4 separate regions of the Homo sapiens genome follow, and regions 1, 2 and 4 are each linked to region 3. Evidence: promoter capture Hi-C in 16 types of primary human blood cells and fetal thymus (Javierre and others, 2016). All regions are on one chromosome and are shown on one strand. Each heading gives the region's core, a stretch centred on a gene start or on the middle of the fragment in contact. The rest is flanking DNA. Distances are from core to core; before and after follow the strand shown. Region 1 has its middle 25 kb from the start of CASK-AS1. Region 2 overlaps CASK (calcium/calmodulin dependent serine protein kinase). Region 3 holds the start of GPR82 (G protein-coupled receptor 82). Region 4 overlaps CASK (calcium/calmodulin dependent serine protein kinase).

Region 1 (3,071 bases), core at 511-3,010, 230 kb before region 3:
TGCAGAGAGCCGAGATCGTGCCATTGCACTCCAGGCTGGGTGACAAGAGCAAGACTTCGTCTCAAAAAGAAAAAAAAAGAAAGAAAGAAAGAAAAAAAGAAACAAACTCTGCTATCATTTTTTTTGGCTTTCCCCTGCTCACCACTAGTAATTTTCATTTATGTATTTTTTTTTTGCTTTCTCTATTTTTTTTAGTTTTTTCTTTAAACTTTTTTTGTAGATTTTTTTATTTCTCTAGTTTTATTTTTTCTTTATTGTTTTAGTTTTGTTCTTCTCTAGTTTTAAAATACATGCATCAAGTATACACCTACTATGTACCCACAAAAAATAAAAATTAAAACATAAAAAAATTAAATACATTCATCAGCAAGACAGAACATTGTGAATCATATCGTCAGAAGCTCCTCCCAGGGATGTAAAACTTTTCTCCCTCAAGCTGAGCGGTGGCATTGCGGGTTTGCCTGGCATGTTTTTGACCTTGTAAAACAGCATCCTGTGATTAGGAGCTGGTCTCTAGATGAACGAACCCAATACAGCACTTTAGTAATTTCAGGTGATGGCTGACAAGGAATGGCGTGTGCTTTCTGGTTTCTCTGGCACATAGCTGACATCACAGGGCTTACTCCTTGTGATTTAGGCGGCAGCTGCAGGAACAGCCTTCTGGAAAGATAAAACCAGCATCATTTGTCTCACCTCTCCTCGGAGTGCTGAAGCTTCCTTTTCCTCATTAGGAACATTCCTTTTACCTCAAAGAGCTATTGTGAAGAATGAAAAGCAGAAATAGCTGGGAAGCACTTCACGCCAGCCAAGGAAATGTGAGTCACCGCTTGAGTCTCAAGTAGGATTGGGCTCAGCTGTGAGTAACATAAACCCTGAAATACCAGTGGCTTAAACGAGGTAGAAGTTTATTCCTTTTTCGTAATAAAGTGCAGGAGTGTGACAACATGGATGATCGTGGAGAACATTATGCAAGTGAAATTAACTAGTCATAGAAGGACAAACACTGCATGATCTCACTTACATGTGGAATCTAAAAGAGACAAACTGGAAGAGTGGAGTGGAGTGGTGGTTACCAGGGGCTGGGCAGGAGGGGTTGGGGAGATGTTGGTCCAAGGGTACAAATTTTGTACCTCAAGAGATCTATTACTAAAATGGTGACTGCCGGTCGCGGTGGCTCACACCTGTATTCCCAGCACTTTGGGAGGCCGAGGCGGGTGGATCACCTAAGGTCAGGAGTTCAAGACCAGCCTGACAAACATGGAGAAACCCCGTCTCTACTAAAAATACAAAAAAATTAGCCCTGCATGGTGGCGCATGCCTGTAATCCCAGCTACTGTGGAGGCTGAGGCAGGAGAATCGCTTGAACCCGGGAGGCAGAGGTTGCGGTGAGCTGAGATTGTGCCATTGTACTCCAGCCTGGGCAACAAGAAGGAGACTCTGTCTGGAGAAACAAAAACAAAAACAAAATAACAATGTATTGTATACTTGAAAATTGCTAAGAGAGTAGATTTTTTTCTTATTTATTTATTTATTTATTTATTTATTTATTTTTTTGAGACAGTCTCACTCTGTCATCAAGCCTGGAGTGCAGTGGCACAATCTCAGTTCACTACAACCTCTGCCTTATGCCTCAGCCTCCTGAGTAGCTGGGACTACAGGCATGCGCCACCACGCCTGGCTAATTTCTGTAGTTTTGGTAGAGACGAGGTTTCACCATGTTGGCCAGGTTGGTCTCGAACTCCTGGCCTCAGACGATCCACCTGCCTTGGCCTCCCAAAGTGCTGGGATTACAGGCGTGAGTCACTATGCCCGGCCACCAACAGACTTTGATCATGGCGACAAAAACATGCACACTGTGCCTTTCATATCAAGCCAACTCTGGGTTGCAACTGGCCTGAAAGTAGGAACCCCCACCCTTGGGAGAACTCACCCTTAGCCCTGTCCCAGGCCCTTGGGAGGTTTGCCCCATCTTGGCATGACTGAAGGTAAGGGCAAGCACATGTCCTTGCTGCCCTTAGGGTTCTCATCTCCCTGCTCTGAGGGATTCCTCCTGTTTGCCTGGCGTTACCTGCCTGCTTTCAGCCTGGCGCTTGAACACTCCCCAGGTCCCCGAAGGGAAAACTGCTCTCACAGCCACTACTTCTTCCATTCCTATGGCCACCTGCAGTCCCATATGGGAGACATCGAGCAGTTTCTGAAAACATACAGGGGATGGGAGTTGGGATTCCTTCTCTCTAGAACCTGGTGGTTCAACATCTATATCAAGCATCCACATATGACAAATCAAATGACCTTGAACAAAACTACTTAGCCCGGGCATGATGGCTCATGCTTGTAATCCCAGCACTTTGGGAGGCTGAGATGGGTGGATCACTTGAGCCCAGGAGTTCGAGACCAGCCTGGACAACATAGGGAGACCTTGTCTCTACAAAAAAATACAAAAATTAGCCAGGTGTAGTGGTGCACGCCTGTGGTTTCAGCTACTTGGGAGGCTGAGGTGGGAGGATCACTTGAGCCTGGCAGGTGGAGGTTGCAGTGAGCCGTGATTGGTGATTGCACCACTGCACTCTAGCCTGGCGACAGAGGGAGACCCTGTCTCATAAAAAAAAAAAAAAAAAAGACACAAGGGCTTAATATGGAGATGTAGCGCAGGGCAGTGAAGGTGGGATGGGCCTGTGCGAAGAGGCATCAGAGAAGACTTCACAGAGGAAACGTTGCTTGAACTGTGGTCTGAGGTGAGCAGGGTCCCTGGCTGGACAAGGAGGAAGGGCATTCCCAGCTGAGGGGACAGCGTGAGCAAAGCCAGAGAAGCTTGGAAGAATCTGACCCAGGGCAGCCAATGGCAAGATGGCTGGGGCCATGGGTGCGTGGTGGGAGATGATGGGAAATGAAGCTGGAGTGGAGGCAGAAGAAGATTGGAAACATGTCTCCCGCACTCACTATGACCCTGGCACTGTGCTAAATACTTTATAGATACTGTCTGGTTGAAATTTCATAGTGACACTATGAGGGAGGTATTATTATTATTCCCATTTTACAGATGAGTGCATTGAGACTCAGAGAGGTTAGGC
Region 2 (3,120 bases), core at 621-3,120, 190 kb before region 3:
TCAGAATAAAGTTAAAATCTAAAACCATCACATTAAGCTCTGATTACACACTGGGGCTATTACAGTTTCAGCTTTAGGGGCACAGATTATTTTCTGAGCCATAGCTTTATTTTCATGAGAAATAAATTCTACAGCTTTTCTTAGGTTTGACTGAATTACAGATTTTTCTGAATGTTAAGAAAAAATGAGGCTTTACATTGTACTACTATGGATAAGGTGAACCATCTTAAGGATTCCCAGGGTTACCTCTTCTAGGGTGGTACAGTGAAAGGAAGTGGGGATTTACTGTAAAAGAATAAAAATTTAAAAATCAACACAGTTCAACTTCACACCTCACTTTCAATTGGCTGTAAAGCCTTAATCGAGTCACAATTATGTTAAGCCTTGGTTTCTCCATCTACAAAACTAGATACTGATCTCCAGCTCATAGGGTTACAAGGATTAGGTAAGGAGTCATAACGCCTGGCAAAATATACAGCACTATAAGAACATAATCTATTACTATTTTATGAGAAGCTAGGTTATTAATTTCTTTCTAGTTTAATGTCTTTACCATCATCCTCTAGCTTTAAAGTTGGACCACAACATCTTATCATATAGTATTATTAGACGTGCTCAATTGGGCCTCAGTTGTCTGAAATAAGATGGCATAAAGTATTAGACCTGTACTAAAAGAGCTGGACATGTGTTAGGTGGTTTTCCTATGGTCCACATGTAGTTTGGCAGAAGTGAGAGGATTCTAAAAAATGCCACAAGGCCCTTCTGTTATGGACAGTTTTGGATGTACAATGAGGAAGGAATTTCATCCTCACCATCTTGTCTTCTGAATTGTATTCTTAGCTCCTGACCCTGTGCTTGACATATAATAAGGGCTTAATACAAGTTTGTTGGATTAAATTGTCTGTAAGATACAGTAGAGGGGTCATCTAAGAAGCTGGAGTGGGAAAGGGGGATGGAGAAAAATGTCCTAAGGAGAGAGCCTCCCTGGAGCAGTGAGGCTCTGCCTGAAAGCAAGTTGTTCATGGTCACGGGTATCCTGAAGGCAGGATGAAGGCCTTGTCCAGCTGAGGAGAGACTGGGCTGAGGGCAGAGAAGCCCGAGAGTGAAGCCCAGTCGGTGCAGACTGCGGGCATTCTCAGCTGTACTGTGGTATGCAATGGTCATTGTGAGACCAGGACTGGCATGAGGCTGGCCTGCGCAGGAGGGCCTGGGACCAGTGTAGTCAACCAGACCAACAGGAGGAGCAGGACCTGGGCAATCCCTATCCCCAGGGCCGCTGGCCCAAAGAGACTCAGGCAGCCAGGATGCCTATGGCCGGCCCTCAGGGCTAGGTGGATCTGAGAGATCACAGTTCTGAGAGGCAGGGACCCAGGAAGCAGGAGAGAAGAGTGCAGGTGAGCTCATCCAGCACTCAGGGGAGCAGAGGAGAGTGCCCAGCCGGGGTGAGGAGGTGCTTTGGGGCCAAGTGCAATGGGTAAAAGTAACTGCTGTGGGTGTCCTGAGGAGGCTGAGAGAAGTGTCTCCCACTCAGCAGTGCAGAGCAATGCATGGCTGTGCAAGGGCAAGGAGAAAGGGAGAGCTGGACGCTATGGGTGGAGCAGCAGCAGCAGCGGCAGCAGCAGCAGTGGCGGTGGCGGCGGCAGCAGCGGAGGCAGGTAAGGCAGAAAGCCCTCGAAAGTGGACTTAGGTAATGCAGAGGGAGTCTGAGGAGCCCTGCAGCCAGCATACTGCTAGAGACATTACTACCAGCAGAAAACGACGTTCAGGTGAAGACCAGTGTGGAACCCAAGGAGAGGATGTCGAAGACCAGGACCAGGATTGAGACTTTGCCTCTAGCCACCCCTGGCCAGAAGATTTTTCCAATCCCTAGTAAGGAGGGATTAGTAGTTAAACAAAAATCAATCTGTGGTACACATCATATATTTAGTTCTATATAGGTCCAAGTTAATTGTTAAGTAAACGGCAGTGTTCACCCTACTGCTGCTTTCCTCCCTAGCCCCTTGAACAGATCCTTTTGTGGTTTCCAAAGTTCCAAGTTCAAGAACCCCATCAGGTGTTGTAAACGGAAATGGGTGAACCCACTGGCCACGAATTAGGATCCTGGAGCCCAGAAACTGAGCTGTCAGGTCCCAGGTCACACAGACTCTGGCTATATAGGTTCTGTCCTTGCTTTAGGGATGGTTAGGGGACCAAGTCTCATACAGTGGCCCTTGAACAGGGATTCGCCCTGCCTAAGATAGCCAGGTAAGCCTCCTGATGAAACACAGCCTGCTTGAGGGAAGCTGGTCTACTATTTCAGCAGGTAGCATACTGGTTCTATTTCTAAGGGTTAAAGGAGATTTGGTACAGATCAGTCCTAGAAATGGCAGACCCAGGAGTCACATGGCACCCACAAGCCTCTCCTATAACCCACCTTGATGTCTACAACTCCCAAATCCTTCCTACTATACTTTGCCTCCCATATCTACTTGGTTTGTACTCAGAGATGAAAAAACAGCTTGTCAGCATTTTTGATGTAAAGCCTTCAGCTTTCTCTTTTTCAAGTTTAATAATTCCTACTGCAAGACATATCTAGAAACCATTTCATCATCTCTGTGTCTGGCTCTCTTTTGAGTCCTCTTCCAAGTCTTTATCTCTCTCCTAGTTTTTGCTCAGGGTCAGGCATTGTGCTCAGGTAAGGAAATGGCAGAGGCTGAGAGCCACCATGGGTTTCCATCCCTGCTGTCTCTGACATCTGGGCTCACTCATGCTTGCTTTCATAAAGCTAGTGCTGTGTTTCAGACCCAGGCCCCAGGATCAGTTTCTCACTGGAGATTAACATAATGTGCTGGTAGAGGCTCTGATGGTCCAGCGTGAGCTGTACCCAGAGAGGGAAGGTGGCTGTTGTGATAACAAAGTGCCAGAGCCTCATCCTGAGGTCAGATGATCGTAGGATTTCTGGCAGGCGTAGACACAATCAGGAACCTTACTGAGCTTCTGCATATAATAAACCTCTTAAGAGAATAATCTCTGCTTCTTAAATACATGGTGTGTGCACTGAGTCCAACGATTAGTCAGCTGGCATTCTAGACTGTGAACCCCCAACGCCTCCATTACTGATACTTTTCTGTGGTTTATGAA
Region 3 (3,142 bases), core at 512-3,011:
GCTTTGAGGTGAGCCAATCACCATCCTGTGAGGACAGATGGCTGTGTGACCTTGGGCAACTTATGAGATCTTTCTGAGTTTCAGTTTTCCTCACCTTTAAAATGAGACATTTCACAGGGTGTTGTGAAAACCAAATAAGACTTGGATGTAAGGCACATAGCGAGATATCTGGCACATAGTAAGCTCTCATGAAATGTGGCTAATGAATGATGGTAGTGATAGTAGAAGCTGTAGTACCAGCAATTGATTAGATGTGAGATGTGAAAGAAAGAGGAATTAAGGATGATTCGTAAGTTTTTGGCTTGAATAACTGAAGGAGTGATGGTATCATTTACTGAGTTTGGAGACAATGGAGGAAAACAAGAGCGTTCTTTTTTCGGACCAAAGACGCTTATGCCTGAACAGATAATATTACAACTATCTTTCAATCACTTAGAAATAGCATTCCATTTCTGTTCTTCTCTAAATTAATTAAAACTGTTTTTTGTTCTATGTAATTCCTTCCTGGAACATGATACATTACTGAAGTAAAAGTGATGGGAATTCTAAAAGCCAAACTACTCTGTAATGAACGGCCATGTAACCCTGGATGAGTCACTGTTCTTAAGTAAATGGTGGCAAGGCAAAGATGAACAGCAGCAGAACACAATCTGGACACTTTAGGCAGTTCTCACTTTTGTTTTGGAGAGAAATATTAGCAAACATCATAGAGAATTTATGAAATAAACATGAAATAAGGTAAGCATTGCGGGTTTATGAGAAATGGCAAGGTACTTCTGTAAATTTTAAGTGAAGATTTACTGATAACTAAAATGCTCAGGTTTGATGAAATTAGATTTCTGTTCTCTTTTTCAGACTCCCACTGGTTTAACTACTCAAGGATGAGAGGGAGTGCTTGATGCAAGTCTTCCTCCCCAGATGTACACACTTAGCTTTCATTTAGTTAGTAGGTCACAGACTGATTCGACAATCCTGAACAAAAAAATTGGTTTCACAATTCTATTTTTTATTTTTAAAATTTTTATTGTTTTAGACTAGTCATGGTTTCACAATTCTTTATAACTATTCATTTGATCTGAGGCATACTTGGCACTTCCCAGGATTTGCCAAATCCATTATGAAATGCCCCAAACAGTGTATTATGTTGACAAATGGAGATAGTGCAGGGCAATTAGAAACAGAGTGGGTTAACTCATTAGTAACCAAACTGGGACCCAACCCTGGGTGCAGTCTGTGCTTACAGTGAGTTCCTCTGGGCCTCAGCTTCTTCAACTTTAAAACAAAGGGTCTCAGTCCACAGATGATCATGAAGTTCTATTTTAGCTCTATAATATTTGATTCTAGTAAGTTATAAGAAAACTTTGAGTTTTGTTTCTATTTTTGATAAAGATGGATTGCAAATAAGCCATCCACAAACAATTTTACAAACGAGTTTGCACCAATATTTGTATTGGGTTACTACAGAGTGGCTCCTTCTATCACTGTGTCATATAAAACTGGCCATGGGGGATTAAACCTGTGAACTTAACTTCAGTCAATCGTGCAAACAAAGGTTACTGGAGTGTAACTAGTTCATGAAATAATCATAAGGAAGTATAATATGTATATTGTTCACCACTTCCTCCCACTACAGAAATAGAGAAATGAGGGTTTTTTGAGGAGGCAGTTGCCACATTGACCATAACTATTGAATTTCTTCAATATTCTGTTTAATTTCCCCTTTTCCTCCCACTGTAGTTGGTGTCATGCAAGAATCTATTCACACTGACTAAAGATATTGGAAGAGTGAAGATCAGAGAATTTTAAGTCTGAAATTTGGCATCACTGCCCTGAACAATATAACCTTAGTTGGCATAAACTACTCATACAGGTAAGAGTGATTATTATTCATTTTTAGCTTAAAAATTAAACTCTATAAAAATAAACAGGACCTAATGGTTTAAATTTTGAAAGCTGATCATTAAGAAAGGCAGTCAGCATATTAACTATGTAGACAGTCATTAGTAACTGAAGTTAAGAGTTGTAGAACTTTTTTCATTTGTCAAATTAGCAGAGACAAAATGTATGCATGAGTGACTTGAGATAGACATTCTCCTGAGGGGAATATAGACTTAGAGACATTTTCTGGAGACCAGTTTTGCATCTGTAACATGTAATTTTTATTTGATTTCTTAATAGTACTTTCCAAATTCTGGAAAATAGTTATCTAGTAGTTTTATGATCCAAGTTTATTTTTGAAGGAGATGTACATAGTAGATACAAGTTTGGGAAGGTAAAGATGGTGACCTAGTTGTTGACTGCTACACTGAGAGTCCTACAGAGACTCAACTTCTGTCTGATAAAGCTAGCCTCTGCAGAAGTCTATGTCCCTTTTGTTTGGAAGCATTTAATATTCATACAGAAGCACCATTACCTTTGCAGTTTTTAGTATACTATGCATTATCTGCACAAGGTAGGAGCTACTGCTTTTCTTTAACAGCATCATAAAAGGAAGCTCCAATCCTTATGTAAAATCAAAACCTACTGTGAGCAGATAATTTTTTCTTAAATAAACTGGCTCATTTCACTGTCTGACTGATTTTTGAACTGGTGAAGTTACAGATTAGGTTTTATATATTTATACCAGGGTCTACACTAACTGAAACCAGATTATAATTCATCAGGTTGCACTAGATTCAGATACAAACTTACAATGAAGCATATGGACTGTTTTCTAAATAAAAATAGCAAAGAAATAAAATTATAAAGACAGTGGTAAACATTAATTAAGAATCTTGTTATTTAAACCCACAGACACTGCACAGTCCTCAAGTTTTCAAGACTTTGGGTGTGGATTGGTTTAAAAAGTTATTATAAAATTATAATATCATATTTGAAAAAAAACCCCAATTTCTGTAATCCAAGATGCAGAAAATAAATCAAACCATAATTCTGAAGGGGGTAGAGAGTAAAATTGCCCTGAGGGGCTGGGGGGATATAAGAATTTCAAAGGGTTGTGTATGGTACAGTTTTTATGTTTATCAAAAGAGAACATGATTAAAAAGAAGATTGAGAAACCTTGCTCTAGATCATGAAAGAGTGGAGAATGTGGTGCTCAGAAGGCTATGGTGAAGAACACAGAGAATATGGCACATTCTGAATA
Region 4 (3,079 bases), core at 144-2,643, 150 kb before region 3:
TTGTATTCCTAAAAATATTCTTATGTTTTGTTCTGAGACTTAGATCAGTTACTCGGACATAGTTTGATCCTTTGGGTCTTGCGTTCATGATCCATTAGGCAGGTCTGGAGCAGTTGTCAGTTTGGGGCTAATTACTTCTCATTACAGAGATAAGACTTCCCTGAGCGCTCTACACAATGAGCCATGAATTAGAAATTTTTCTAGTCTGACTGGTGGGAACAGGTAGTGCAGGCGCTGTTCCTTCCAATCCTTTTGGATGGTTTTTTTTTCCATCCAAAGTGGAGAGTGTTGGGGAGTTTCTCAGTGTTGGGGAATTTCCTATTAGACATGCACTGATCGATACTCTGCTGAATACTTGAGGGAGATCCTCTGCAGATCTGAGGTTCTGTCTGTGTGCAGCTCTCTCCTCTTCAGTACTCTGTCCTATGAACTCTAGTTGCTTTGGTCACCCCAGACTCTCAGCTCTGTCCCCTCAATTTAGGGAGTCTGCCTACTCTGCCTTAGTTCCCCTCCCTGTGCTGTGGCCTGGAAACTCTCTCAAGGCAGCATGGTGGGGCATTCATATGGGTCACCTTGTTTCCTGTCTCACAAGAGATCACTGTCCTTAGTTGCCTGATGTCTAATGTCTTGAAAACTGTTCTTTCATGATATTTTGTTTTTTATATGTTGGGTTGTTTCAAATGAGAGGATAAATCTGGTCCCAGTTACTCTATCTTGGACAGAAATGAAAGTTCTATAGTCACATTTAATGCCAGAATACTATTCTACAGAGTGGATTACTTTTTGTTTTCTGATTATCCACTATTAAAAAAAACAAGCATTCATAAACATATTTTTTGCACTAGATCTGGTTAATCCTAAGAATCACACAGGGAAATTTTAAATAATGCTGACTCTTAAACCCACTCTTTAGATTTAAGCTCAGGAGGCCTCGAATGGAGCCCGGAAATCTGTACTTTTTAACAGGCTCCCTTGCTGGAAAGTGGCCTTGAATTTGAGACAGTTAAGGGTAGGGACTGTGTCTTTTATTTTTCACTAGAGAATAACACTGTCAGAAAGCTTGATAAAAATATCTGAGACTTTATACTCTAAACTTAATTTGTACCACTCCACAAACTATAACTTTGCATTGTTCCTATTTTGCAGTTTTCAGAAGTGGTAGGTGAGCAATGTGAAAAACTGGTTTATCAAAATGTTTCCAGTCCTAAGATTCAATTGTAATATTCAAGTTTCATTTCCAACTTGTACATTCAATCAGCTTGTATGGTTACTAAGAAAAGTGTTCCTGGAAAAATGCTGTAAATTAGTGTGTAAGTCAAATCTAATTTCATAAGGGAAATGATAGTACAATACAGCTTCCACCCTTGAAACTAATAGATGTATGTATTCATTCAACTAACATTAACGTGAATTTACTATGAGGCAGGCACTCTGCTAGGTACAGTAGCAAATGAGACAAAAAGGGTCTCCCATGGCCAGGAGAAGTTCACCTCAAACCAACTGTAGTTAACATTTATTATTCTGTAGGTCCCAAACATTTCTCTGTAGAGAGGAACTGATTCACTTTCTCTCTGTTCCCAAGTTCACAAATTCTAGGGAAGGCATTGGCATAGCTTGGGTTAGGTGCCTACTCCTGAACCTACCAGCTTGAGGGGAGATATTAGGAAAGTTATACTCCTGGCCTTTCCCTGTTTATATAAGCCTTTCCTCTATTTTGTAAGCTAGTTCAAGCTTGATTTTTGTCACTTGCAACTATGGGAATTCCAATCAATAAAAAAAAAAATTATGAGTATGATGCTACAAATGGGAAAACAGAGGTGTGTAACAGGAGTATGTCACCCTTGAGGAATGGACACATTGCAGAGGGTCTGAAAAACAAAACAGATCATATAGGAATATCCTGCACAGTAACATAATGCTTTGAATAAGACAACTAAGAAAGCAAATAAAGTTGTATTAAATGCATTAGAGATTGACACTCTATTATTGAAAATATATATTTTATATTTCACATAAAATAATTCCTGTTTTCATGGAAACCCATCAAAAGGAGAAGAAATATACATCTTCACTAGGATCATCGAAGACAGAAAAGCTTTTGGAAGGAGACTTTTAGGGGAGACTCAAGACCATTTTACGCTTTCTGAAAAAGTAACTCAGGGATGTAGTTTTATGCTTTTATTCAGTCTATGTTTCTTTTTTCTTTTCTTTTCTTTTCTTTTTTTTTTGAAACGGAGTCTCACTCTGCTGCCCAGGCTGGAGTGCAGTGGCGCGATCTCGGCTCACTGCAACCTCCGCCTCCCGGGTTCAAGCGATTCTTCTGCCTCAGCCTCCTGAGTAGCTAGGATTACAGGCACCCACCACCACACCTGGCTAATTTTTGTATTTTTAGTAGAGATGGGGTTTCACCATATTGGCCACGCTGGTCTCGAACTCCTGACCTCGTGATCCACCCGCCTCGTCCTCCCAAAGTGCTGGGATTACAGGTGTGAGCCACTGCACCGGGCCAATTCAGTCTATGTTTCTATGTAGTGAGTCTTCACACAAACAATCAAGCAGCTGTCACTGGACTGCTTGAGAACTTAATGATCCCAAGACACTCTGAGGCCTCCTTCTTGTGGTCCCTTCTACCTTCTTGCCTGCTTTGCCTGGCTGAACATCACACCTTCCTGCCTCTCCAACACAGCTTTCTCTCCTCTCCAGCTCTGTCATAACTGGGCTTGTTAAGTAAACCGTGCTAAGCTACAAATTTACTTGTTTAATGTAGCCAGCCCTGTGGAACGTGAGCTCTAGTAAGGGGCAGTGTCTTATCTGACAATAGATCACTGGCATCTAATAAGAGTGATTTGCACTTAGTAGGGACTTCAAAAATATTTGGTGAATAAATGAATGAATATATAAAATGAATGAATGGAATATTAGACTTTCAGAGCTAGGTGGGATCTTGGGGATCATTCATTTAGTCAACTATGCTTTTAGAGATGAGCCAACTGAGGTCCACTGACATGAAGTGATTTGCCCAAGACACCCAAAACCTGCTGTAGCCTATGCTCTTAAGCCAAAGAGTTGCCTGGATAGT

Evidence for each region. Contacts are between HindIII fragments. The CHiCAGO score rates a contact against its expected background, and 5 or more counts as called.
Region 1: a fragment that was not itself captured here is called in contact with the fragment with the promoter of GPR82 in region 3 in 1 of 17 cell types (M2 macrophages); the score reaches 6.5 in M2 macrophages.
Region 2: a contact is called between a fragment that was not itself captured here and the fragment with the promoter of GPR82 in region 3, in 2 of 17 cell types (neutrophils and M2 macrophages). The highest score is 5.7, in neutrophils.
Region 4: a fragment that was not itself captured here is called in contact with the fragment with the promoter of GPR82 in region 3 in 1 of 17 cell types (M2 macrophages); the score reaches 6.3 in M2 macrophages.

The regions. Positions count from the first base shown.
Region 1 is chrX:41,491,004-41,494,074 of GRCh38, forward strand. No RefSeq gene overlaps it. Among named protein-coding and RNA genes, the nearest start is that of CASK-AS1, 25 kb to the right of the region's middle. The HindIII fragment of the contact is 2,098 bases long and covers 712-2,809 here.
Region 2 is chrX:41,527,783-41,530,902 of GRCh38, forward strand. All of the region lies in intron 25 of CASK (calcium/calmodulin dependent serine protein kinase), which reads right to left. Among named protein-coding and RNA genes, the nearest start is that of CASK-AS1, 12 kb to the left of the region's middle. The HindIII fragment of the contact is 7,338 bases long and covers 1-3,120 here.
Region 3 is chrX:41,722,420-41,725,561 of GRCh38, forward strand. GPR82 (G protein-coupled receptor 82) reads left to right here and starts at 1,762. Exons shown (of 3, transcript NM_080817.5): 1 at 1,762-1,870. All of the region lies in intron 5 of CASK (calcium/calmodulin dependent serine protein kinase), which reads right to left. The HindIII fragment of the contact is 20,979 bases long and covers 1-3,142 here.
Region 4 is chrX:41,573,765-41,576,843 of GRCh38, forward strand. All of the region lies in intron 15 of CASK (calcium/calmodulin dependent serine protein kinase), which reads right to left. Among named protein-coding and RNA genes, the nearest start is that of CASK-AS1, 58 kb to the left of the region's middle. The HindIII fragment of the contact is 672 bases long and covers 1,058-1,729 here.